Regions from separate parts of the Homo sapiens genome. Here region 2 is linked to region 1. The links are contacts of gene promoters, found by promoter capture Hi-C in blood cells and fetal thymus (Javierre and others, 2016). All regions are on one chromosome and are shown on one strand. The core of a region is centred on a gene start or on the middle of the fragment in contact, and the rest is flanking DNA. Distances in the headings are between cores, read along the strand shown. Region 1 holds the start of G2E3 (G2/M-phase specific E3 ubiquitin protein ligase). Region 2 holds the start of RNU6-7 (RNA, U6 small nuclear 7).

What was found. The method cuts DNA at HindIII sites, captures the fragments that hold promoters and counts their contacts. A CHiCAGO score of 5 or more calls a contact.
Region 2: a contact is called between a fragment that was not itself captured here and the fragment with the promoter of G2E3 in region 1, in 1 of 17 cell types (total CD8 T cells). The highest score is 8.5, in total CD8 T cells.

What each region holds. Positions count from the first base shown.
Region 1 is chr14:30,557,277-30,564,406 of GRCh38, reverse strand. G2E3 (G2/M-phase specific E3 ubiquitin protein ligase) reads right to left here and starts at 5,249. Exons shown (of 15, transcript NM_017769.5): 1 at 5,135-5,249. It overlaps G2E3-AS1 (G2E3 antisense RNA 1), which reads left to right. Exons shown (of 4, transcript NR_151720.1): 3 at 3,572-3,670. RefSeq lists an enhancer at 5,394-5,583. The HindIII fragment of the contact is 9,808 bases long and covers 1-5,983 here.
Region 2 is chr14:32,201,824-32,208,784 of GRCh38, reverse strand. RNU6-7 (RNA, U6 small nuclear 7) reads right to left here and starts at 6,740; the gene lies at 6,634-6,740. RNU6-8 (RNA, U6 small nuclear 8) reads left to right here and starts at 5,516; the gene lies at 5,516-5,622. RefSeq lists enhancers at 2,326-2,485, 4,801-5,345, 5,346-5,891 and a silencer at 5,532-5,711. The HindIII fragment of the contact is 224 bases long and covers 1,874-2,097 here.

The sequences.
Region 1 (7,130 bases), core at 4,000-6,499:
GAACTATGATTGTGCCACTGAGCTCCAGCTTTGGGTGACAGAGATCTTGTCTCAAATAAAATGGCTAATTTTATAAATGGGAATTTTACCTCAAAAAAAGGTCAAATGTACACCTATCATATGATGCAGCCAAGAGAAATAAGGCATATGTCCATTGTACACAAAGGTCAACAGAAACTTTATTTGTGATAACTAAAAACTGTAACAATGTATATGGATAAAACAAACTGTGGTATATTCATACAAGAGAATACATTTACTAAAACTCATTGAACTATACCCCTAAAATGGGTGACTTTTATTGCATACAAATTGTATACCAGATACTTGTTTAAAAGTTAACAATTTTTATTTAAAACAAAAGGATAAGTTTAAGATAAAAAGCAATGGCTGGGCGCGGTGGCTCACGCCTGTAATCCCAGGACTTTGGGAGGCTGAAGCGGGCAGATCCCTTGAGGTCAGGAATTTGAGACAAGCCTGACCAACATGGCGAAACCCTGTCTCTACTAAAATCACAAAAATTAGCCGGGCGTGGTGGCAGGTGCCTGTAATCCAGCTACTCAGGAGGTTGAGGCAGGAGAATCACTGGAACCGGGAAGGCGGAGGTTGCAGTGAGTCAAGATCCCACCATTGCATTCAGCCTGGGCAACAGAGTGAGACTCTATATCACACACACACACACACACACACACACACACACACACACACACAAAAGTAACAAAGTTACAAGTTTACATTAAGTTATCAATATATAACTAGTCCCCAGGAAACAGATGTCATCCTCCCCTACCCCACCCCACCCTACCACCCATTGGCTCCATATGTCCATTTTCATGTTTCTTCATGATTCCACTGTCATAGCAACACATAAGACCTTTCCAGCTTGGCTTCCAATAGTCTTGTGATATCCCAACTCCAAAATCAAGAAATCACATGAATGGTCTAGCCTGCATCAGATATGCAGCTCTGATATAAATACCTGTACCAGTTTTGTTGGGGAAGTGGTATGGGACTTTAAGTGGTATGGGGCTTTATGTCCCTTAGACCAACCCTACCTACTGGTCATGAGAATGATGTCCCTACATTGTTGGGCAGGTTTTTAAAGAAAAGCTGTGGGCAAGATTAGGCAACTGTCTTAAGTGATCAAACGGAAAAAGAAAAGTTTTGTTTTTTAATTCCCTAACATTTTGAATTAAGATACTTTTTATTACATCTAACATACCACTCATAATTAAAAAAAAAAAAAACTGTACCAAGAGTGTAGGGACCAGCCCCACAGGATCGGTGGGTTTTTCTCCCCGTGTGCGGAGACGAGAGATTGTAGAAATAAAGACACAAGACAAAGAGATAAAAGAAAAGACAGCTGGGCCCGGGGGACCACTATCACCAAGACACGGAGACTGGTAGTGGCCCCAAATGCCAGGCTGTGCTGATATTTATTGGATACAAGACAAAGGGGCAGTGAGCCATCTCCAATGATAGGTAAGTTCACGTGGGTCACGTGTCCACTGGACAGGGGGCCCTTCCCTGCCTGGCAGCCGAGGCAGAGAGAGAGACAGCTTACACCATTATTTCTGCATATCAAAGACTTTTAGTACTTTCCCTAATTTGCTACCGCTATCTAAAAGGCAGAGCCAGGTGTACAGGATGGAACATGAAGGCAGACGAGGAGTGTGACCATTGAAGCACAGCACCACAGGGAGACGGTTAGGCCTCCAGGTAACTGCGGGTGGGCCTGACTGGTGTCAGGCCCTCCACAAGAGGTGGAGGAGTAGAGTCTTCTCTAAACTCCCCCGGGGAAAGGGAGACTCCCTTTCCCGGTCTGCTAAGTAGCGGGTGTTTTTCCTTGACACTGACGCTATCGCTAGACCATGGTCCTCTTGGCAACGGGCGTCTTCCCAGACGCTGGTGTTACCGCTAGAACAAGGAGCCCTCTGGTGGCCCTGTCCGGGCATAACAGAAGGCTCACACTTGTCTTCTGGTCACTTCTCACTATGTCCCCTCAGCTCCTATCTCTGTATGGCCTGGTTTTTCCTAGGTTATGATTGTAGAGCGAGGATTATTATAATATTGGAATAAAGAGTAATTGCTACAAACTAATGATTAATGATATTCATATATAATCATATCTAAGATCTATATCTAGTATAACTATTCTTATTTTATTATTTTATTATACTGGAACAGCTCGTGCCCCCAGTCTCTTGCCTCGGCACCTGGGTGGCTTGCCGCCCACACAAGAGGAAATTAAATATTTTAAAAATACATTTTAAAAGCTACTAAATCTTTTGGTGCCTCAGTTTCTTCATCTTAATATAGAGATAATAAAATGGTTGTGAGGATTAAGTGAGAAAATATGTATAAAGCATTTTAAATTCATGAATATTAACAAACATTGCTCCTGATTTTTTGCCACTTGAAATGTCCTCTGAGCCTATAATTTCAATACTTATTTTTCCATAGTTTATAAACCATATGCTATCACTAAAATCTCTACTAAACTACACAGAATTATATGCTATCATCTCAGAAAAAAGCCAAGCCTTAAAAAAAAAAAAGCAACAACTTTTTGAGTCATTAACCCAAGACAAAATGTGTTAAATTGTTAAAATAATAAGTACTCACTGAACATACACAGTTTCAGAGTATCATGACACTCACTGTTCTGCACTGTGCACTGCAGACATAAAAATTAAAAGGACAAGGGCAGTCTCGCACTATATATTTATAAGCAAAAAGCACAGCCTGGAGAAGTCTTTAAACCCATTTGAGTAAAATCTTAAGGGGAAATAAAAAGGCCAATGGCTAAATATGCATAAAATGTAATAAGAGATAGATTTGGAGAATTCTAGTAGTATTGATAGAACATCAGCAGGTTGGAAGAGACTGGTGTAATATTATGAAGATGGTCCTTGGGAAGAGAAGTTGGTACCAGACTCTGAAGGGCTCTGTAAATAAAAAGCAAAGCTAAGAAATTTGAATTATATATGGTAGACAATGAGAAGCCATCAGAGATACTTATGGAGCAACATCTGGAGGGAGACTGAAGAGAGGCAAGAAATATTACTTTTTTAAAAAAGCATAAACTTTTGAGTTAAATCTAATTTCCGACTTCAGTTCCAACGTGTTACTAGTTGTGTGAGAACAAATTACCGAGCCCCTCTTAGCCTGTTTTCTTATTTGAAGATAGTAACTACCTCAGCGATATTGTAAAGATTAATGAGAGAATGTATGTGATGCGGTTTTTACAGTTTAGTAACTCAATGTAATTGGAGACTTATGTATCATTTGCTATGTGGCACACACTATTTTAAGGTCTTTGTATATATTAACTCATTCAATCCTCACAATAATCCTACAAAGTAGGTAACCTCATCATACGGTAGAGGGAAATGAAGCAGAGAGGTTAAACAGCTTGCCCAGGGTCACCTAGCTATCAAGTGGTGGAGATGGGCTTCAAACCAAGGCAATCTGGCCCCAGTTCCATGTCTTTAATCAACACATTATAATGCCTTTCTAGGAAAGATCAAATCAGTGTTTTGAAAACTCACAGTATTTTCTAACCTTTCAGTTAAATATGCAGACTGTTCAATGCCATCCTCCAGACCTACTGATTCAGAATCTGAGATCTGAAGTGCAGGAATCAGCATTGTTGAACAAATCCTTCAAGGTAGTGTATACACAATAAATTCTGAAACTCACTGATTTAAGAAAGAGCAAAAATCCAATGAAAATAATTCAGGTAGAAAAAAATAAAGAGATTAGGATATAGCGATCAATTTTTAAAAATTACCATTTGTTGACAGCACATATGAAATGAGCAGAAAGGCTTAGAGAAGTATAGCCAATGTCTCTGTTACAAAGACACTATATGAAAAATGCTCATATTTTAACTATCCTAAACACCGAGTATTTAAGTCTATTCTTCCTGGCTAACACTTAAAAGTTCAATAGCAGGAAGAATGGGGGTGCTGGAATAGCCAGCACTGGATGAAGGAATGTTTTTATTCTGATTATTATGAAGTCCTACTTTTAAAAATATATTTATACATTTAAATGGTACAATATCCTGGTGTTAAAACCTTAAAAGGAACTTAAAATATCTTTTCGTATTAAGCTACACAAAACTGACGATTTTTAATAAAGATGTAAAACTTGTACACATTTAAAGTTCCCATTTATAGTTTACATTTATGGCACACTTTTAAACCATTCCAGAAGGCATGACTTTACTACTGGGTTAGACAGAGTTCCATATTTCAGATAGTTCATCATTAAAAATTAAAAAAAAAAAAGCCCAAAACAATAAAACCCAAAGAAACAGATGCTCAAAGCATTAGTGGATTACTTCCAAAAAGACTCCATAATAACCCAGTTGGCCAATGAATGAGGGAGGCGAAAAGGCAGGGCGGTGGAACTAAACCTTATCCCTATTGTTTGCAAACTAAGACCCTAGTTAATCACCACCGCTGTTACCACAGCCGGTTTAAATAGGAGTCTCGGATTTTTGCGGTACATGAAAAATGTCAACCGTGAAAGAAAAATATCCGGGTTTTAAATACAAAGGACACTCGAATTTCAGTTTAAATCCCACTCAGGCATTTCAAAGACTGTCACTTCCCTGCAGTCCAGAGTTAATCAAGGTTGCCCGGGTATCTCTCTCAGGAGGAACGCGGAGCCACGTAGAGCATCTTTTCATTCTAAACCCGCCCCAACCTTCCATCTTTCATTAAAAGAGATTTGTTTAAACGTGGCAACGCCTTCACAGTGAGATTTAACTACTGTTAAAATTTCAGCATTCGAGCCGAATTGGTGGAAATAATAAACTACGGGTTTAAAAAAAGCCACGGAGGATGCGTATAAACAAGGTTTACTCGCGGGGGACCGGCAGGGCCTCCGAATCCTCAACACTGAGAGCTGGCTGGCGTGCGCAACCGTCGAGAGCGCTGGTCCAGCAAACGCCCCCAGTGCCCCGAATTCCCTTAGTCTCCAGGCCGGGCCCCAGCACCAGACGTCCCCAAAAGCACTGCGAGGCCCCGGCTGCGACGTCCGGCCTCCTGACACCCTCTCCCACCCCACGGTCCTGCTTCTCTCTCTGGAACGTTCTGCGTCTTCCCGTTCCCCATTTACTCACCAAGGAGAGCTGGGCAGAAGTTCCAGAGCCTCAGTGCCACTTTTCCCGGCCCGCTGTACGTCGGGGCACGCCGACCGCGAGCAGCCACATTCAACGGCCCACAGGATTCAAATTCGTCCACTTCCGCTCGCAAACCCGGAAAGAGCGGTCGGCCCCGCCCTCGAGGGGTGGGACCCGCGGAGGCGCTGGCTGTGGGGAAGGGCCCGTGTGCTCCCGCCCTTCTGGCGCTCCTGCGCTGCTGCTCGGTGCTAACCTGGCTGTGTCGCCTTCGCTTGTTTGTTTTGTCGGGTCTCTCTCCCTATTTAGGAGCTCAGAAAAACTCCGGGCGCGGGGTCATTGTTTCCGCCTATTTGCTCTTGAGGGGATCCTCTTTTTTCCAAAATGGACAGAGATGTGCTGAAGTTTCGTCACCTTCGAGGAATGGGGCGAATGAAAGCACGAACGGAGGCAGGAGGGTTTTATCTTTCCCTTCATCCTCGAGGAAACAGCAGCAGCAGCAAGAAGGAAAAAAACAAACCCTCCAAGTACTTAGTGCAGCCTTTCCTGGGCCTCTCAGTCCTATCCCGGCACAGTCAGGGCTTTTAATTTATTTCTGTCCTGGGTTTAGGGAAAACAAAAAGCCAAGTTCACCCGTATTCAGCCAAAAGTTGAAAATAAGTGGTCGGACCAATTCCTGGTCTCAAATAAACTATTTGATGGTGTTAGAAGGCAATAAATTTTATTTCCCCCCTCAGATAAGGGCTCACTTTACGAGATTATTAAGTATTGTCCCGTGAGATTATTGAAACAACAGTATCTTTTCCTTTATCGAGGACCACAGTATGTCTTTGATCCAAAACGTCTTAAGCTTCTGAAGAGACATCTGGGAGCTTCCAGAAACTAAAGGAAGGACTGGAAATGCTAGGGGGTGAGGGGCGCTAAATAACTCTGACCTTTATGGCTGTGATTGATGTTGCCACCAGATCATCCTCACATCTAATAACATTGAATTACCTAAACGGATCAGTACAAACCAAACCATGACAGCATACCTTTAGCCTTTGTCAAAAATACAGTTTGAGGGCCGGGCGCGGTGGCTCACGCCTGTAATCCCAGCACTTTGGTAGGCCGAGGCGGGTGGATCACGAGGTCAGGAGATCGAGACCATCCTGGCTAACATGGTGAAACCCCGTCTCTACTAAATGTACAAAAAATTAGCTGGGCGTGATGGCAGGCGCCTGTAGTCCCAGCTACTCGGGAGGCTGAGGCAGGAGAATGGTGTGAACCCGGGAGACGGAGCTTGCAGTGAGCAGAAATTGCGCCACTGCACTCCAGCCTGGGCGACAGAGCGAGGCTCTGTCTCAAAAAAAAAAAAAAAAAAAAAAAAAAAATACAGTTTGAAAGGTTTACTAGATTTCTGAGAACCTATGCTACAGGTAATCTGACACAGGGGGTGTGTAAAGCTATTAACTGATGTACTGTTTTTAACAGTGGAAGATAGAAAATAATCTGTGTCTACAAATAAGGAAGGGGTTAAATACATGTAAGTTATGATACTTTAGCATCTGATATACTGACGCTGCGGGCACTAAAAGTAATGAAGTAGATCAGCGGGTACTGAAATGAAATACTGAAAAAGTTTAAGAAGGACTGTAGTATCCTTGTTTGAAAGTATGTGTGTGTATATGGTATACAAAGTTTTGGGATGGATACCTAAGCTGTAAACATCTCTGGGAGCGGGCTGGTAAATAAGAGTAGGAAGAGATGGAGAACTTTTACCTTTCACTTTATCACCAGTTGAATTTTTAAGATAATAAACTTTTTTTTTAATTTTGCAATTTTGTTCTTTAAGGAAGATTGCTAGAAATTGAATACATTCTAGATACAAAATCAGGTTTAATGAGCGTATAAATTTCTAATGTTTGGATAGTCTATGTCCATTCATTCATTCAACAGTTCTTTCTACAATTACATATAATGATTTGACCACACATTTTGTCATTCATGATATAGTGTA
Region 2 (6,961 bases), core at 736-3,235, 1.6 Mb before region 1:
TGGAATACTTTTTAAATCTAGCACATTGAAATTTTTAGAAATTCCATTTCTTATTTTCTGGGCATTATTGGCATACTATGCTTATGTAAGCATTTATTCATCTCTTAAACCAGCAGTCTCCAACTTTTTTTGGCACCGGGGACTGGTTTCCTGGAAGACAAATTTTCCCTGGGGTTGGCGGGATAGACGGTTTGGGGATGAAACTGTTCCACCTCAGATCATCAGGCATTAGATTCCCATAAGGAAGGTGCAACCTAGATCCCTCACAATCACAGTTCACAATAGGGTTTGTACACCTATGAGAATCTAATGCTGCTGCTGATCTACCAGGAGGCAATGCTCGCATGCCCTCTGCTCACCTCCTGCTGTGCGGCCGGGTTCCGAACAGGTCACAGACAGGTACCAGTCCATTGCCTGGGGGCTGGGGACCTTTGTCTTAAATCAATCAGAACCGGACTCCTTTAATGTAGGAGATTTCATAATCTAAGTTGTTAACACCCTCTGGATTTAGGAAAGCATTACACATTCATATAATGAGAGATAAAGACCTTTCTGAATTACAAACATGCAGACATAGAGTTTATAGCTTTAATTCTAAAATTTCACTCACGGGTCAAGAATAAACACGGAAGCACAAAAAAAATTACTAATTCAGATATCAAAGAGCTGTTCCCCTTCTTGATGGGCACAATATTCTTAATTGATTTGAGCCCAAAATGGACAAAAGGTGTATAAACAAGACTAATAAACTAGTTTCTCTATAGTCTGTCACCCAACAGAGACTAGATCTCTATAAATATTAATCCATTCACAGAGCTTACCAAATGATTAGACCATGACACCAAATTCCCAATCATTGTTTCCACCCAGTACAGCAGACACACTGGCTGGCTGGAAGCAAAACAGAGACAAATCACAAACTTAATAGAGAAAAATATTAAAATTAGAAAAACAGAGTCACCAAAGTTCTATTGTCATTTGGCAGCCAAGAAAAAAATGTGTTTGGGCTTTAAGCAGCCCACAAGCTAGTCTGGTGAAACGTATATCTGGTTTTGTTAAGATGAATCCAATAGACAACTCATTGGAAGACCTCCAAACTTTTAAAAAGACAATTTTTTTAAAAAAGTGGATAAAATCATGCCTCTCATACACATAAAAAATGAACACACGTTAAAGATTTTATCACGAATCAATGCGGAAACGCAGGAGACGTTACAACTAGTTCAAAAGAGAAATAAAAAAATTATGTGGAATAAAGGAAGGTTGAATGTGCAAATGGAAGCAAAACTGGGTTCTTCCATAGTGGTGAAGAGAAGTCAATTGAACTTCCAGTCAGGAGAGAATTTGCACAGCTATAAACAGAAATTATTAACTGCCATCAGTTATCTACAATCTACAGAGTTGTAAAATAGCTTCCATAGAATGTGAATCAGATTTTGTATTTTCCAGACAATCCAGTTTTCTACCTGGGCACAAATGTTTTTTCCATACAAATAACATCTATTTGTAAATAACATTTTTCTGAAATAACATTTCAGAAAAGTGGATGAGTGTATATAGAGTTAAATTTGTAGTAATTACAAGAAATTAAGAAGTTCCTCTCTGACATGGTTTTTTCCCTACCATAAAACAGAACATGAGGTTTACACATCTTCTACACATTAGGGAACTGGTTGCCATGAAAGGGCTCCAAGCACCAAAATATCTCACATCAGCTTTACCAGAGTGACTTTCTCATTTCATTAAAAGTAGCCATTAAAACACAGATAGGTCATATGGGTGATATGCCAGTGATTCTCTGAATACAGTGGCATAAGTCAATCCTCTGGAAACTGTAAGAAGTTGGGTCTGGGAATCTATCACTAAGAAAGCTTGAGAAATACTGTTCTAGTATATTTTAGTTTGTGGAGTTAGTTAGCAGAGCCCTGAAGAAATAAAACCCAGACTGATGAGTCTTTAAATATCCTTACAATTGTAAGTGGGACATTTAGGAGGAGTCTTGGGGAGCCAGTGGGTGCATTATGAGGGAAGGAAGTATGGCCATAAAAGGAAGCCAGTAGCAAAGAAAGGGGCCTGGTGGGGAACTCGAAACAAGCTTCACCTGATGTAGTGTGTCTGATGGAAAAGAAAGGAGAAGAGAGGAAAGAAAGAAGGGTGCTGACAAGCCCAAAGAAGATCTTATAAAGGCTGAGAGCTCACAGGAGGCGTGGAGAGAAAGAGAGAGGCAGAGGGAGAATGCAGAAAGATATCTCACAGACACCCCGGCCGTACTCAGGACAATTAAATCAGAATCTCTTTCCAGGCACAGTGGTGTGCACCTGTAAACCCAGCTACTTGAGAGGCTGAGGCAGAAGGATCATTTGAACCCAGGAGTTCCAGATCAGCCTAAGCAACATAGTGAAGACCCTGTCTAAAAACAACAATAACAAAGTCAGAATCTCCAGGGGAGGACTCAGTCACTCGTATTTTTAAAAGCTCTTGTGATTGCGACCTGCAGCCCAGGTTGATAACCTTTGTTTCCCACCTGGAGTTCACCAATTTCACACCAGGTGACGCCGGTCATTGATGCTGTGGTTCTAAATGACTCATCTGTTCCTTGCTAAAGAGGATGTGAGGATTTAGGATGAGTTTCTTCTTCTTTTTAATTAGAGCAAAATTCCTGAAGAGGAAATGACCTGTGGTTTTTGACTTTCAATTGTGTCACATCACCAAATGTGCCCTTTCTGTGAGTAAAAAGAACAAGGTCAGCTTTCCACTTAGTGTGTGCTGTCTTGTTCTGCAGTCAAATGAGCAGAACTCAGAAATATAATTGTAAAATGGCAGGCTTGAGGTCTTTATCTTTTTCTTTGCAGTTTACTGCAAATAGTATGACCTAGTAATACTACAAATGGTGCAGTGAAAACAGCAATGAATTCGGCATCAGAAGATGGTAGGACCAGTGGCCAATCTTGCCCAGGGAGGTCACTACACTTATATCAGCCTCAGTTTCCTCTTCCAAAAAATAAGATACATCTCTTTGGATCTAAAATGTCATTGATTGCGAAATGCACCATAGTTTTACATGTCACAAAGGAAAGGCAGTTGTTTTATTTCAGTTAATGTAAATCGTTAAAATTATTATGTTTATTGATGAGTTCAAATGTTCCAGAATATAAAAATAAAACATTTGTCTCACTGAAAAAATCCTTTAAATAAATTTCTTAAAGCCAATTTGTTAATAATTCCTATTAAGTAAGACTCATCGTGAGGGTGGTGGGGGGAGTGCGGTGGCTCACGCCTGTAATCCCAGCACTTTGGGAAGCTGAGGCAGGTGGATCACCTGAGGTCAGGAGTTTGAGACCAGCCTGGCCAACACGGCGAAACCCCGTCTCTACTAAAAATACATAGCCGGGGCGTGGTGGCGCACGCCTGTAGTCCCAGCTAATTGGGAAGCCGAGGCAGGAGAATCACTTGAACCTGGGAGGCGGAGGTTGAAGTGAGCCGAGATCGCACCACTGCACTCCAGCCTGGTTGCCAGAGTGAGACTCCGTCTCAAAAAAAAAAAGACTCATCGTTCTCAAATGAGTCAAATCATACAAAATATTATTTAATTAAATAGCCACCTACCTCATAACTTTCCTATAAGGATGTGATAAAGAACACTATTTCCTCCTAAAAAAAAACGTGATTGGAAATTCATATATGCTTAACCACGGGTACTAACACTAGAGTTGTTTTTGTCAAAATGCAAATACGGCATCTTAAATATTTTTGAGTTTAGCAGAAGCCAATAATGTTTTAATGTTGCAAGTGTGCAGTGTGAAGACATGCTAAACTCACAAATGTTTAAGATCTCATATTTGCATTTGGCAAAAACAACTTTAATCTAGCCTAATAAAAGTAATTTGTTAGAACGAGTAACCAAACAACTATGGAAAGCACCTGCTCATGGGATCAAATGATCCAGAGACTCAAATGACATCAACACTCTTTCCTAATTTCTTTCCCTGATCCTATTATTCTCTCAATTCTCTTCCATGGGATACAGAACTTGGCCACCACAGGCCAGGGGTTAAATCCTTATAACTCACAAGTAAACTTATAACTCACAAACTCACAATGTTTGTTTATAAACATTGGTTAATGGGTACAAAGATACAATTAAAGAAGAGGGAAAAAATTCTGATGCTCTATTGCACGGTAGGGTGAAAATGGTTAACAGTAAAATTTTGTATACCACAAAATAGAAGAGAGGCTACTGAATGTTCTCACCACAGAGAAAGGATAAATGCATGAGGTGGTGGATACACTACCTTGATTGGATCGTTATACAACATAGATATGTATCGAAACATCAAATTGCACCCCATAAATATGTACAATTACAACGTGTCCTCAAAACAAAACAAAAAGCAAGCAAACCACCAGACCAGACCTTCTACTTGGCTTGTTCATGGGTGTATCCTAAAATCATTAAAGGAAAGATTTCTGGGAGACTTTATAGTGTGAGGGGTCAGACGGCTGACCGCACCTGCACCCACAGGTCAGGGGTAGGCATCACTCACACGGGGACAGCCAGCGGATACACTACTCTTGCTGAGGTGCAGTAAGCACACACCCTACCACTGTGTTTGAAGCCGTGCGGGCGTCAAAACAAAACACAACACAACCAGAATCTAATGAGTCCATTACCCCTAACCATAAATTTTCAAGAAACATGGAGGCTAGAGAAACAAGTTAAACGACACCATCAGTAAGTAATGGGCCAAATCCCAAGATCTGCGACAATCCACAGGGCAAATATCCCTCAGTATACGAATGACGTGAAGAAAAACGAGGCGAGGGCAATTAGAGGACAATAGACACCCAGGGTCGTAGCAACCGAATACAACCTGGGACCTTGTTTGGATCTCTATGACAATTCGACTGTAATAAGGAATTTCTGAAATAAGGAAATTTGAAAGTAGACTGAATATTAGGTGCCATGAAGGAATTACCTTAACTTTTCTAGGTGTGATAATGGTCGGTTAATTACTTTTTTAAAAAAAATTACTCATCAGAGGAAGTTAATGGTGAAACGACCTGTTCTAAAGGTGCGCGCCGACCCCGGGCCGGCCCTCTCGGTGCCGCAGCAGCCTCGTTATCGGGGCGTCTCCAGCTCGCCTGGGCGCTGGACCCCGCCGCGCGCTCAGAGGCGGCCGCAGCATTGGCAGCTCCCGGCATGCTCCGCGGGCTGAGCTCCGCGGCACGAGAACTCAAAGCCCCCGGCCTGGGTCCTACGCGGGGCCCTTTACCCAGGGTGCCCCGGGCGCTCATTTGCATGTCCCACCCAACAGGTAAACCTGACAGGTCATCGCGGCCAGGTACGACCTGGCGGTCAGAGCACCAAACATACGAGCCTTGTGATGAGTTCCGTTGCATGAAATTCTCCCAAAGGCTCCAAGATGGACAGGAAAGGGCGCGGTTCGGTCACCGTAAGTAGAATAGGTGAAAGACTCCCGTGCCTTATAAGGCCTGTGGGTGACTTCTTCTCAACGTGCTCGCTTCGGCAGCACATATACTAAAATTGGAACGATACAGAGAAGATTAGCATGGCCCCTGCGCAAGGATGACACGCAAATTCGTGAAGCGTTCCATATTTTGCGCAGTCTGTCAAGATCATTTCAGTATCTGCTAATTAGTACTAAGGAAACAGTGTGAATCTAAGCGAAAACGTGTGGCACCCAATGACGAAACAGTGGTTTTCATTACAAAAAATTTGTGAAATCTATGAAGTGGGAACGAAGCAGAGTCACCCGAGGAATGTTGTGTGCGAATAGATCGTTAATACGCATTTTGGAAATGGAAAAAGGTCACCTTGTGCCTTCTTCATTGAACTTTTCATTCTGAAATAGACTTACGGTCTTGTCTCACCAAACAACACAAACTCCAGAGCCCCAGCTTGTTTGGCTTTTGTTCAGTAGAAGACCAACTGGCATATGAATTGTTCAATAAATCCTTACTAAATCTTTCCTAACCTAATAAATCTCTACTAAAGGAAGGAAACATTAGCGCTCATTTCTTGCGCCTACTTTGTGCCATTCTCCATCATCTTAGACCTGAGTGCTTACACCCTTTCTCTTAGACTGCGAGCTGCACAAAGGAAAGGAATGTTACTAAGGGCTGGTATTATTGGAAATCAATGTTGGCCTTTGCCTATAGATTCAAGAGCTCCAGGACCCATGTGAATACTGGCCACAAGTAGCAAGCCCATCTGGATCTGTTTTCACGAGTCTTCTGTTTTCATGTATCCTCTAAGAAGTACTTAGAAAGGGCCGATTTACATAAATCGGACAGATTCTGTGATGGGAAATTTGATTAGGAGGAATGTTCATTGCCCAGCCTGAAAGCATATTTTAATCAATGAAAACAAGTATTTGGACGCAGATACGAGGATCACCTAGGTAACTTAATAGTAACGTAACTAGGCGCCTCGAAGATGGAGGCTGTCGAGGAAGTGTGCCCACTGTGCGACAGGACTGGTGGGAGGCCCGGACAGCATCGTAGGTGTCTACTGGGCCAAGCTCGCGAGCAGGAAAATGCAGGCCCCGAGAGATCTTGAACAACCTCTAGGAACACCACCGTATCTTGCCCAACGACCTTCGTTGAACCGCGCAAAATATGGAACGCTTCACGAATTTGCGTGTCATCCTTGCGCAGGGGCCATGCTAATCTTCTCTGTATCGTTCCAATTTTAGTATATGTGCTGCCGAAGCGAGCACGCAAATAAGTCCGTCCCCAGGTCTTATAAGGCACGGGAGTTTCTCATTTGTTTTCCTTACGGTAACCTAATCGAGCGCTTTCCTGTCCATCTTGGAGCCTTTAGGAGAATTTCATGTAACGGAACTCATCACAAGGCTCGTAAGATTGGTGCTCTGACCGCCAGGCCGTATCTGGCCGCGACCGATCTGTCAGGTTTACCTGTTGGGTGGGACATGCAAAT